Regions from separate parts of the Homo sapiens genome. Here all the other regions are linked to region 1. The links are contacts of gene promoters, found by promoter capture Hi-C in blood cells and fetal thymus (Javierre and others, 2016). All regions are on one chromosome and are shown on one strand. Each heading gives the region's core, a stretch centred on a gene start or on the middle of the fragment in contact. The rest is flanking DNA. Distances are from core to core; before and after follow the strand shown.

Region 1 (3,810 bases), core at 793-3,292:
GCTTTTTTCCATGGTGTAGAGAAATCCCACCAAGTCTCCTGGGAAGAGGGGGATGTGGTCCAGGAGGCCCCTTTCTCCTGCCCACAAAATGAGGGAAGAAGAAGAGGGGCAAAGAGAGCAGCGAGGGCCAGGGTGCATGTACTGTTGGCTTCATTTGCAAGTTGAAACTACAATGGGGGAATGCCTGATAGATCCAGATGGATTCAGGGAACCCCAGGGCCCCCAGGGTCTGCAGGTGCATGTGGAGAAGCCTTTCACAGCAGGGTGCAGGAATGACAGTAGGTAGGGCAGAAGGAAGCAGCAGAGAGATGAGCCCGAGGCAGGGCTCCCAGCAGCCCATGGCCTGGCTGAGGCCTGCAGAAGTTCCTACAGGCCCCATGGGAAGACATGGAGTGCTGAGGGGCCAGTGGAGGCCTGGGGTGAGGACACATGGGCTCCAAGATGTGTGGCCTCCATGATCACAGGCAAATGGCTGGAACCAGAGACTGCAGCAGTGGCCCACAGACCAAATGGGACCGGTCACCCCATGGCAGTCACTTGTCCAAGGCCAGACCAAACCAGACCCTCCACTGTGGAGGATGGCATGAACCTCAGGGCATCCCTGGGCCTTCTGTCCTTGCACATGTCACCTAAGTACCCCCCACCCCCACACGCATACATACATACACATACACATACACATACACATACACATACACATACATACACATACACATACACATACACATACATACACAGGGCTCATTTGCACAAGGAGGGGGATTCAATATCATTTCCATCCAAATGATAGAACATTCATCTGAAAGACATCGTCTTTCACAAGATTCTGTTTACACATCTCTAGGTTCAAAGTTGGACTTTAAAAGAAACTCAGAAGAGACTGAGATGCTAAGTTGAAGTCTTGGCACCCCCCACCCCCACAAGCACCCATGCCTTGGGAAGAAGATTCACTTGGACACATCTTTTCTGCTCATCTAAGCAGTGGTGTGAGCAAATCCCAGCCATCCTCCACGATGTGTCCCCTACTGAAACCTTCACACTGCCAGAGGGGGGTGCTGGTGTTCCGCCTCTTTCACAGATGAGGAAGAGAGGATTGGTGGGGTGAGTCGGTCTCACAAGCACATGCAGTTATTTGCAGAACTGGGGCTGTCCAGTTCCCAACCAGAGTGTCCCTCCACCAGGCTCACTGTCTCCCCAAGGCGCCAGTGTTTCTGGGTTGGTCTCACATAGATGGCTGTGGCCGAGCCTAAGCCAGAAAGGCAGGGTTTCCTCCAAGTCATGCTGGGAAAACACTACTTACAGACACGTATGCACTTCTGGGGCCCCCACGATGTGTATGTTGGTCTGCTTGATGGTGTCTCGCAGATCCTATAGACTCTGTTCAGTTTTCTTCAATTTTTTTTTTTTTTGAGAGGGAGTCTGCCTCTGTCACACAGGCTGGAGTGTAGTGGCACGATCTCAGCTCACTGCAACCTCCATCTCCTGCCTCAGCCTCCCGAGTAACTGGGACTACAGGCACACACCACCACACCTGGATAATTGTGTGTTTTTAGTAGAGACTGGGTTCCACCATGTTGGCCAGGCTGGTCTTGAACTCCTGACCTCAAGTGATCCACCCGCCTCAGCCTCCCAAAGTGTTGGGATTACAGGCATGAGCCACTGTGCCTGGCCTCTTCAATCTGTTTTCTTTCTTTGTTTTTTTGGAGACAGAGTCTCACTCTGTTACCCAGGCTGGAGTTCAGTGGCTGGATCTTGGCTCACTGTAACCTCCACCTCCCAGGTTCAAGCAATTCTTGTGCCTCATCTCTCAGAGTAGCTGGGACTATAGGTGTTCACCACCATGCCTGGATAATTTTTTTTTTTTTTTTGGAGATGGAGTCTTCCTCTGTCGCTCAGGCTAGAGTGCAGTGGCATGATCTCAGCTCACTGCAACCTCTGCCTCCTGGGTTCAAGCAATTTTCCTGTCTCAGCTTCCCAAGTAGCTGGGATTACAGGCACGTGCTACCATGCCCAGCTAATTTTTTAAATTTTAGTAGAGATGGGGTTTCGCCACATTAGCCAGGCTGGTCTTGAACTCCTGGCCTCAGGCGATCCACCAGCCTCAGCCTCCCAAAGTGCTGGGATTACAGGCGTGAACCACCATGCACAGCCAAGTTTTGTACTTTTAGTAGAAGACAGGGTTTCACCATATTGGCTAGGCTGGTCTCAAACTCCTGATCTCAGGTGATCGACCCATCTTGGCCTCCTAAAGTGCTGGGATTATGGGTGTGAGCCACCACACCCGGCCAGACTTTTTTTTTTTTTAAATTAATCTTTGTAGTCTGTCTCTGTGCCAATGATCAGCCAGAGCTATAAACTTAAGGTTTTCTCAAGTCTTCTCTGAACGTGCGTCTTCCCTGGGGCACACATGGTGACTCTCTAATTTCCCCAATATATGCAGTTGCTTTAGAATGTTCTGGTCTTCAATGTCTGCCTCCCAAGAGGGGAGAAAGAGAAATGTGAACCAGGTGGGGGCAGGCCCACAGTCCTTAAATCCTCTGGAAGTCACTTCAGTCAGAGGGGGAAGGGCTTGTAACATTGGGGGCAGGTGCAACCACAATAACCACCACCTCTTTGCACCTCAGTGATCAGAAGCAGCAATCAGTGAGCAGAGCACAGACCTCCCGTATTTGGAGGACAGGGTCCTTTTTGTTCACCCGGCTCCCACCCACCAGCTGTCTGCAAGCTGCTCCAGGAACATGTGCACAGCTGCCTGCCAGGGGCATGGGATGGGAGATGGGTGGCTGCTGCCTGCTGAGAGCTGAAATTGACCCAAATTAGCCACAGTTGGAAGCCGTCAATAGACTCCAGAGTGCCAAAATAGTCACATCAGACAGATTCTGCCGGCGCAATTGTTGTCTAGGTGAAGAGACAGATTTCTGGAACTTGCTACTCCACTGTCTTAGAATCTTCCTCTCCCCAATTTTTTTATTTTGAAAAATTTTGGCCAGTAAGGTTTTTTCAAAGGAAAGAAATTGGCTGGAAGATACTTATATACTAACATGTTTTGGGAGGAAGTTTTCTCCCTTCTGAGGCACATGCCTGTCTCTCAGTAAACACTGGCCTAAAGCAAGGTTGGGAAGTGACTTTCTCCCCGACAATATGTCAGGCTGGTGGGAAGTCTCCTCTCAGGAACGTCTGTGAGAAGAAGCAAGTGATTACAAGCTGGTGGATGCATAAGGAGCTCTTGATCTTGGGAGTGGGAAGGGGCCACTCCCATCTGCACATGGCCTCTTGCTGTTTCCCTGGCTTGTAGCATGGAGATTTATGGGCATGTAACTTTTACAGTCACTTTTTTTTTTTTTTGAAACAGAGTCTCGCTCTGTCAGCCAAGCTGGAGTGCAGTGGCACAATCTCAGCTCACTGCAACCTCCGCCTCCCGGGTTCAAGCGATTCTTGTGCCTCAGCCTCCTGACTAGCTGGGATTACAGGTGCACGCCACCACGCCAGTCTAATTTTTGTATTTTTAGTGGAGATGGGGTTTCGCCATGTTGGCTAGGCTGGTCTTGAACTCCTGACCTCAAGTGATCTGCCCGCCTTGGCCTCCCAAAGTGCTGGGATTACAGGTGTGACCCACCATGCCCTGCCATGATGTCACTTTTCTAGCAAGAGGTCTCCTTGTCTGTATTCAAGTGGGGGGAGGTAGAATGGGGAGCAACAGGTGTGACCAGAAAACAGTCTCCCCACCCAGCCCACCCATCTCTTTCCCCATCCCAGGAGGGTCCTCTGTGGCCTGTGGAGGGTGACAGTGCCCCACACTGGGAGCCCTTT
Region 2 (3,654 bases), core at 785-3,284, 600 kb after region 1:
GACAGAGGACAGATGTCTGTCTGCATCCTATAGAAATGAGGGGATGAAGATAACCTGGAAGGGTGACGGGTGCGGAGACCAGGGGAGTGGGCTCTAGGGCATGCCAGCAGGGAACACCCTTGCTTCCCTGAAAATAGGGAAAACTGAGTGCAGGGTGTATGGGAACTCTCTATACTATCTTTGTAACTTTTCTGTAAATCTAACACTGTTCTAAAATAGAAAGTTTATTTAAAAATGTTGATGGCAAGAGGTGAGAGTGGGCGTGGCTGGAGAGTTTGTAGGTGGCTGGTGGGGAGGCAGGAATTTGAGGAAGGAAGAGCTTAGATGCATTTAGGGCTTCTGTTTTTTGGATGCAAAATTGAGTGTGCAGGAGGCTGGGGGGTGAGGGGAGCGGGGGGGGCGAGGAGCTGTGAGCTAGGACAAATCAAAGGAAGCTGGAAGAGGCTGAGGCCACAGATGCTCATGGCCAGCCATCTGCTGCCCCTCCCCGGCTGCAGGGTCTCCCTCCTCACCAGAATCAGGCTCTTCATGCCTAAGGGTGGGGGATGGCTGAAGCTCTGTCCCTCCATGGCTCTCCCCACTTCCCTTCCCCACCATGTGTCACCCACTCCCTTAGGGATCCCCATGGCAGGCCAACCACACCTACTGGCCAGTTGGTCTAGGGCACAGGGCCTGGCTGTGTCCCTGCCTGGGTGCCTCACTCTAGTGGTGGCCATGGAGAAATTGCCATGGCCTGTGGTCCCTAGACATAGTGGGCACTGACTTCCCAAGGCAGGGGCCTGTGAGTATTTTGAGTTTTAAGAGGGTTCTCCCAACTCCAAAGCGCCAGGAACACTGCCACATAGGCAGCCCTGCTCTCCTTCTCTTGGCATAGCCAATTACCCAACGCAGAACTCGGAGGCCTGGCTAGAACCACCTCCTCCTCCGCGGTGCGGTTGGGACCAGGTGAAGTTTGCTCAGGGAGGTCGAGGTTGGAGGCTTTGTAGTGGTGGAAAAGGCTTCTAAGCGCTGTGGACGGTTTCAGGGTCCCAACCTAGCAAGGAACGGAGTTCTGGAAGGCCCTGGCATGGTGTCCACTCCCTTGCAGGGGGTACTTTTCTGAGGCCCCCTCCCGTTCTGTGCTTAGAGCTTTAGGAGATAAAGGTGCCAAGAGGCTGGCCCTGAGCGTCCTTGGAGGAGCCCTGCCGTGGGAGTCTGGGGTTAGATGCTGCTTCCGGAACTCTACTTGGGACTCCTCTGGGAGGCGTGAGGCTTGAGAGAGAATGCAAAGGATCTCCTAGCTGGCCCCATCTGAGAGGGCACAGGCGTGGAGGGGAGGAGAGGCCTGGAATGGAGGGATAATGAGCTGGGTAGGGGCTGAGAATGGCCTGGAATAAGTGGTCATGGAGCCGAGATGGGGGGCTGTGGTTGGGAATTGGGAACTGGGATCAGGATGAGACTGGGATGGGTTGGACTGAAGATGTGCCGTGACACATGTTGGGGGGGACACGTGCTAAGCATGGGGCTGAAGCTGGGATGGGAAAGCAACTGGGGTGGATTTGAGGGTGGGATGCAGATGACAGTGGATATGATGGGATAGACTAGGCAAGGACCTCTCAGGGAAAGGAGACGGGCCAGGGGTGGGGTGTTGTGTGAGCTGGGTTGGGATGAAAATGGGTTTAACATGAGGTGGGACGCACCAGGAATGGAGATCAATGAAGCAATGGGTGGGGCGGAACCGGATTGGGACGGGGGGTGGGCGGGGGGAGGTGGGGACGGGACTGGGTTCGGGGCTGGAAGGAGGGCTAGCGCCGAGGTTACGGACGGGGCAGGTGAGGGTTCGGGACGTGGGTGGGGCTGGCCCTGGAGCGGCGCGCAGGGGCGGTGGGTGAGGGGCGCCCGGGGCAGGCCGGGAAGGGGGGGCGGGCCTCCCCCTGGGCCGGGCCGGGGCGGCGCTAGGACCGAGCGAGCGGAGGGAGCGAGCCGGGCGGAGCCAGCGCCCCCCGCCCCCCGCCGGCCGGCTCCCCTCCCCCGGCCGCTGGCTCGCTCGGCTCGCGACGCTGCAGAGGCTCCGAGGCGGCGGCGGCGACTCCCTCTTTCCCTCCCTCCTCCTCCGTCCGCCCGTCCGTCCGCGCGTCTGTCCGTTCGGCCCGGTCCGGCCCGAAGCATGGCCGGCGTCAGCTTCAGCGGCCACCGCCTGGAGCTGCTGGCGGCTTACGAGGAGGTGATCCGAGAGGAGAGCGCGGCCGACTGGTGAGCCCCCCGCCCCCGCCCCCGGCCCCTTTGTCCCCGCGCCGCCGCCGCGCCTTTGTTTCTCTCCCGCCCCGCCGCCCCGCCGCCGGGAAGGGAGGGGGACCCCGAAATGGTGCAGCGGGCCGGGAGGGCCGGGAGGGGCTGCCTTTGTGCGCGCCGGGGGAGGGGCCGGCGGGCCAGGCGGGGCACTGCCGGGCCCCGAGCGCCCGGAGGCGGCCCAAGGCGCGCGGTGGGAGCGGCGGCCGGACGCGGCCCGGAGGCGCGGGGTCCCGATGTGGGGCCCGGGGCCGCGTGGCCCTGCGGGAGCCCATCCCCCACCCTACCCCCCGGGCCCGGGGGACAGGTGTGCACGGGGCGGCCAAGGGCACCTTCGCCACCTTCGAGCGGGCGAGGTCCGGGCGGGGACGGGGCGGGGACCGAGCTAGCGGAGCCAGCGCAGCCTGCCCGGCTCAGCCCGGCCCGGCCACAGCACAAAGGAAAGCGAGGGCGGGGGAGGAGCGGAGCGGGCTGGGGGCCGGGCGCCCCGCCCACCGGGGGGCCTCTCGGAGTGGGCCGCCCTCCCCCCGAAACCTGGGCTGGAGTGAGGTGGAAGGATGTTTGCTGCCACATGGCGACCGCGAAGTGACTCCCTTACCGCCGCGGGTCGCGGAGGAGGCAGGGGTGAGCTCTCCTCCCCTACCTGAAGGGGACTGCGGGGACTAGGCAGCTGGGCTGGGGGGCACCGAGCTGCCTAAGGGGCCAGCTGAGATCCCTGGGAGGAAGCCCTCTGGAGAACAAGTGTGGAGGGAGCCCCCAAAGACGGCTGAAGGGGTGAACAGATCCACCGGCCCCCAGCAAGGGGCACTCGGTCCCTGATGGGGGAGGAGCTGGGCCGCCCCTCACCCCGCCCCCCAGCTGTTGTCTCCCGCTGAGCTGGGGGAGGGGATGGACCACCTGCTCTGGGGCTGGCGGCCCAGGGTGGTGGAAAAAGGAAACCGAGGGGTTCCTCACAGCCCCATCCTGGAATCCTTTAACCCCCCCGTAATACTCTTCTTCTAGGGAAGGTGCCCATCTGGTTCCTAGGCCTCCTCTCCCTGCTGGCAGATGGGAACAGGTTCTTCTTGAGGAAACTGAGGCAAAGAGGAGGGCAGGTCTGAGGGACCCCGCTTGGGCTGGCCTCACCCGCACACTGGGAGGGCAGCCAGGTGGGGACTCTGACCTGGGGGCTTCTGGAGGAGAGGATGAGATGGCTGGGCATCCATGGCATGGTACTGCAGCACTGGCCAGCAGCCAGGCCTGGAGGGATGGACGCGAGAGACAAGCTCTCGTGTCCTGCAGGTCAGTCACAGGAGAGGCCGGCACAGGCTCAGCAGGCAGGCGGCCCACCCATTGTCCCAGCCCTGCCCCAGGGGGGCTGAGATCATGGGAGGAGCTCTGGGCAAG
Region 3 (3,390 bases), core at 543-3,042, 680 kb after region 1:
GGACTCTGGATGGGGGAAGCCATGAGCATAGTGGGCAGAGGCCAGGGCAGGGACTGCTGCCGCCTCTGCCACCCCCAGCCCAGGCCCACCTGGCTTCTGCTCCTCCTCCAGGGCCAGCTTGGCAGGCAGTGGTTCATGGCGCTCCAGGACCTCCCCACAGGGGCAGGTGTGCTCAGCAAGGGCCACAGGGCCCAGGCTGGGGAAGGCATAGGCAGAGGTCCCCGGGATCCTGTGTAGGACTAGGGAGGGAGCCTGGTCAGGAGCCCCAGGGCCCCAAAGTGGGGAGGCGGGGAGGAACAGGCGGGGGAAGTGGCCTCATCCGGGATGTGGGCAACCGTGGGCAACCAGGGTCCAGGGTGTGGGAGCAGCACTTACCCTGAGGGCTGGGCACGTAGGCAAAGGCCGTCCCTCGCATCACATGCCCCCCACGGACTGGGAGTGGGGAGACAGCAGGGGACCCCAGCCTCTCTCCGTAGGACAACATCCTGGGCACCCACTATGAGGTCTGCAGGTCAGTGGGTCTCAGCAACGCTGAATGACAATAGCTGTGTCCGGGACACTCATGCCCACACACCCTCACCTGCACAAACCCCCATGGCGCATGATTCCAAATACACACCTAGCAAAGCACACCCTCCATCCTCACCACACACACACACCCCTCCGAGACTCACACGCACAAACACACACCCAGCAAACCACACCCTCCATCATCACCACCACAGCCCTCCGAGACTCACATGCAGACTCACATGTGCACATCTGTGCTGGGCACCTGCATGTGAGTCTCGGAGGGGTGTGTGTGGTGGTGGTGAGGTGATCATTCATTCACCATTCACTCATTCAATGAGTATTATTGAGCTCTAGCCCAGGCTCCGAACCAGAGGCTTGGATATAGCATTGATAAAAGACACTGAGAACTGAGGACGCCCAGCCTGTTTGGGGCTGGAGGGGGCCAGGGAATACGTGGTGTTGGCAGTGGCTGCAGGTGTGGGCTGGGGCTGGGCCGGGCTTCAGTTTTGCCCACCTGGAGAGCAAGGAGGAGCTGCAGACACCTGCCTTCTCATGGGGTCAGCTGGGCACACACGGAGATCCCCTGGGCCGGATCCCGAGTTCCTGGGTTCCCCTCACAATGAATTCCTTTCCCCATCCACCCCCTCAAGGGGCAATGAACAAACACTGACAGGCTTGCCTCAGCCCCCCCTTGTCCCCGCACTGCCCCAGGAGTCTTGGCTATTGGGGTGGAGTGCCCTGATCTGCCTCAGCACTCCCCGCATTGTCCCAGCGTCCTTGGCTGTTGTAGGGGTGTGAAGAGTTGAATTCAAGTCCTGAAGGAGCAGGAGTCCTTTTTTTTTTTTTTTTTGAGATGGAGTTTCACTCTTACCGCCCAGGCTGGAGTGCAGTGGCACAATCTTGGCTCACTGCAACCTCTGCCTCGTGGGTTCAAGCGATTCTCCTGCCTCAGCCTCCCAAGTAGCTGGGATTACAGGTGCCTGCCACCACACCTGGCTAATTTTTTGTATTTTTAGTGCAAACTCGACCTCAGGTGATCCGCCCACTCGGCTTCCCAAAGTGCTGGGATTACAGGTGGGAGCCACCGCGATTGGCTGGACTGACATGTTATATGGGGCGCGGTGGGGGTGGGCGCAGATAGGACACAGATGAAGGGGCTGGGGTGCTGGGCTGTTTCCTACTCAGAGCTGGGGGTGGGGTTGGGATGTGAGGGTCCTGGGCTCACCTTAGAATTCTGTGTTTCAGCTTCTGCTCAGCAGCTCAATGAAGCCTCCAGGACCCTGAGGAGAACTGAGACCCTCCTCTTTATACTCTTGGGTCAAGGGCAAAGTCCCTGGAACCCTAGCTGCCCTCCCTCTGTCCCCCAATTAACCTCACCCCTGAGATTCCTCCCAGTTAATTGCTAATCGTCAGCTCTGCATGGGGAATCTATGGTCAGGTTCTTCCCATCAACCACGACCCAGACACATCCCCCGCCTGCAGGCAGAGACCCTGATGCCACTCAGCACCTTGTTCCCAGGGTCCCCTCGTTCCTGGCCTGACAGGACTCCCCAGGGAATGACCCAAACATCCTATGGCCTTCGGAGGTTGCAGTGAGCCAAGATCGTGCCACTGCACTCCAGCCTGGGTGACAGAGTGAGACTGTCTCAGAAAAACCAAACCAAACCAAACAAAAACATCCTATGGCCTTGCCAAGCGTCGGGGTGTCTGTAAGTCTCCCAGGGGGAGCTCAGAGGAGAGGGAGTGTGAGATGAGGACCTAAGCTGGAAAGGCCGTGGAATGTTGAATCGTGGCAGGTCTCTAATGCCCGACCATGGGTCCAGGATGTGAGTCTGAGTGAATGTGGAGCCGCTGGCCAGACTGGGATGGGCCTGATCTGCCTTTTAGAATGGCCCCCGGGGTGGAACCCGGATATATGGAAGGGAGCCTGGAAGCGGAGGGGCCAGTTAAGAGGCTAATGGTCCAGGCAGGAGATGATGAGGCCTGAACTCCGATGGGAACGGAGGGGCTGGGGAGGACAGGTGCATCCCAGGGACATCTGACCAGTAGAATTGGTGACGGGGAGGGAGAGAGGAAAAGGAAATAGATGGGAGTCGGGTCTCTGGATCTTTGGCTAGGGCTGGGTTCATGCCCAGGTAGGAGGGTGTCGCTGAGTCACGGAAATGCAATCAGTTCTCAGTTCTTGTGTCAGAATCTCTGGGTCCTTGGGCTTGAAGGTGCTGTTAATGTCACATCGAGTGTCTCCACCTATGAGCAAACTGACACCCCCACAGCGGGCCCAGAGACCCCGGCCCACGTGACCTGTTTCTCTCCATTCCCCCGTGCAGTTCAGACCCTTGGCAGGAGCAGCTGAATCCAAGGTGCTCCTGGTGAACTGGGGGTGTTTCTCCTTTTTAATAAGGTTGTGCTTTTTGATATTTTTGAAGTTTGCCTTCCCTGCTGTCACGGAGCTCTGGGTTTAGTGGGGGAGGCAGTTAGCTATCGATCAAATCCATCAAGAGATATAATTCCAAAATGCTGCTGATTTACACAGCCACCACTTCTAAAGATTTATTTTGGGGCTACAGCCCTAGTGAAAGTGAGAAAATGCTGGATCTGACCAGAGCTGCTGTTGGGACTCATACAAGCAGCAGAGAAGGCAGCTCCATTCCAGCACCAACGTATCTCTTGCCAGCCTCTCTGCCATTTCAGCACCTCCCTGCCTACTGCCTGCCTCCTCCCTGGCCAGTGACAGAGTCTGTGTGTCCCCCTGGGTGGTGAGTCCCACCTTGTCTGTGCACCTGGGCTCTGGCCATGGCCTCCCCAGACCTTTTCTGGGCTGAGAGCCTGCCTGGTTGGGGGTGTCTCGCGTTGAGAAAGGAACCCAGCAGGAGGAGC

The links. Contacts are between HindIII fragments. The CHiCAGO score rates a contact against its expected background, and 5 or more counts as called.
Region 2: the fragment with the promoter of DBN1 here is called in contact with a fragment that was not itself captured in region 1 in 1 of 17 cell types (total B cells); the score reaches 5.0 in total B cells.
Region 3: a contact is called between the fragment with the promoter of SLC34A1 here and a fragment that was not itself captured in region 1, in 1 of 17 cell types (total B cells). The highest score is 6.4, in total B cells.

The regions. Positions count from the first base shown.
Region 1 is chr5:178,067,385-178,071,194 of GRCh38, reverse strand. No RefSeq gene overlaps it. Among named protein-coding and RNA genes, the nearest start is that of N4BP3, 44 kb to the left of the region's middle. RefSeq lists a silencer at 2,576-2,655. The HindIII fragment of the contact is 4,078 bases long and covers 4-3,810 here.
Region 2 is chr5:177,472,014-177,475,667 of GRCh38, reverse strand. DBN1 (drebrin 1) reads left to right here and starts at 2,034. Exons shown (of 15, transcript NM_001363541.2): 1 at 2,034-2,232. The coding sequence starts at 2,147. RefSeq lists silencers at 1,797-1,846, 1,857-2,236, 2,317-2,516, 2,547-2,916, 2,836-3,022 and enhancers at 2,171-2,672, 2,673-3,176. The HindIII fragment of the contact is 11,570 bases long and covers 1-3,654 here.
Region 3 is chr5:177,382,836-177,386,225 of GRCh38, reverse strand. SLC34A1 (solute carrier family 34 member 1) reads right to left here and starts at 1,792. Exons shown (of 13, transcript NM_003052.5): 1 at 1,739-1,792; 2 at 376-531; 3 at 90-239; 4 at 1-5. The coding sequence starts at 484. The HindIII fragment of the contact is 19,795 bases long and covers 1-3,390 here.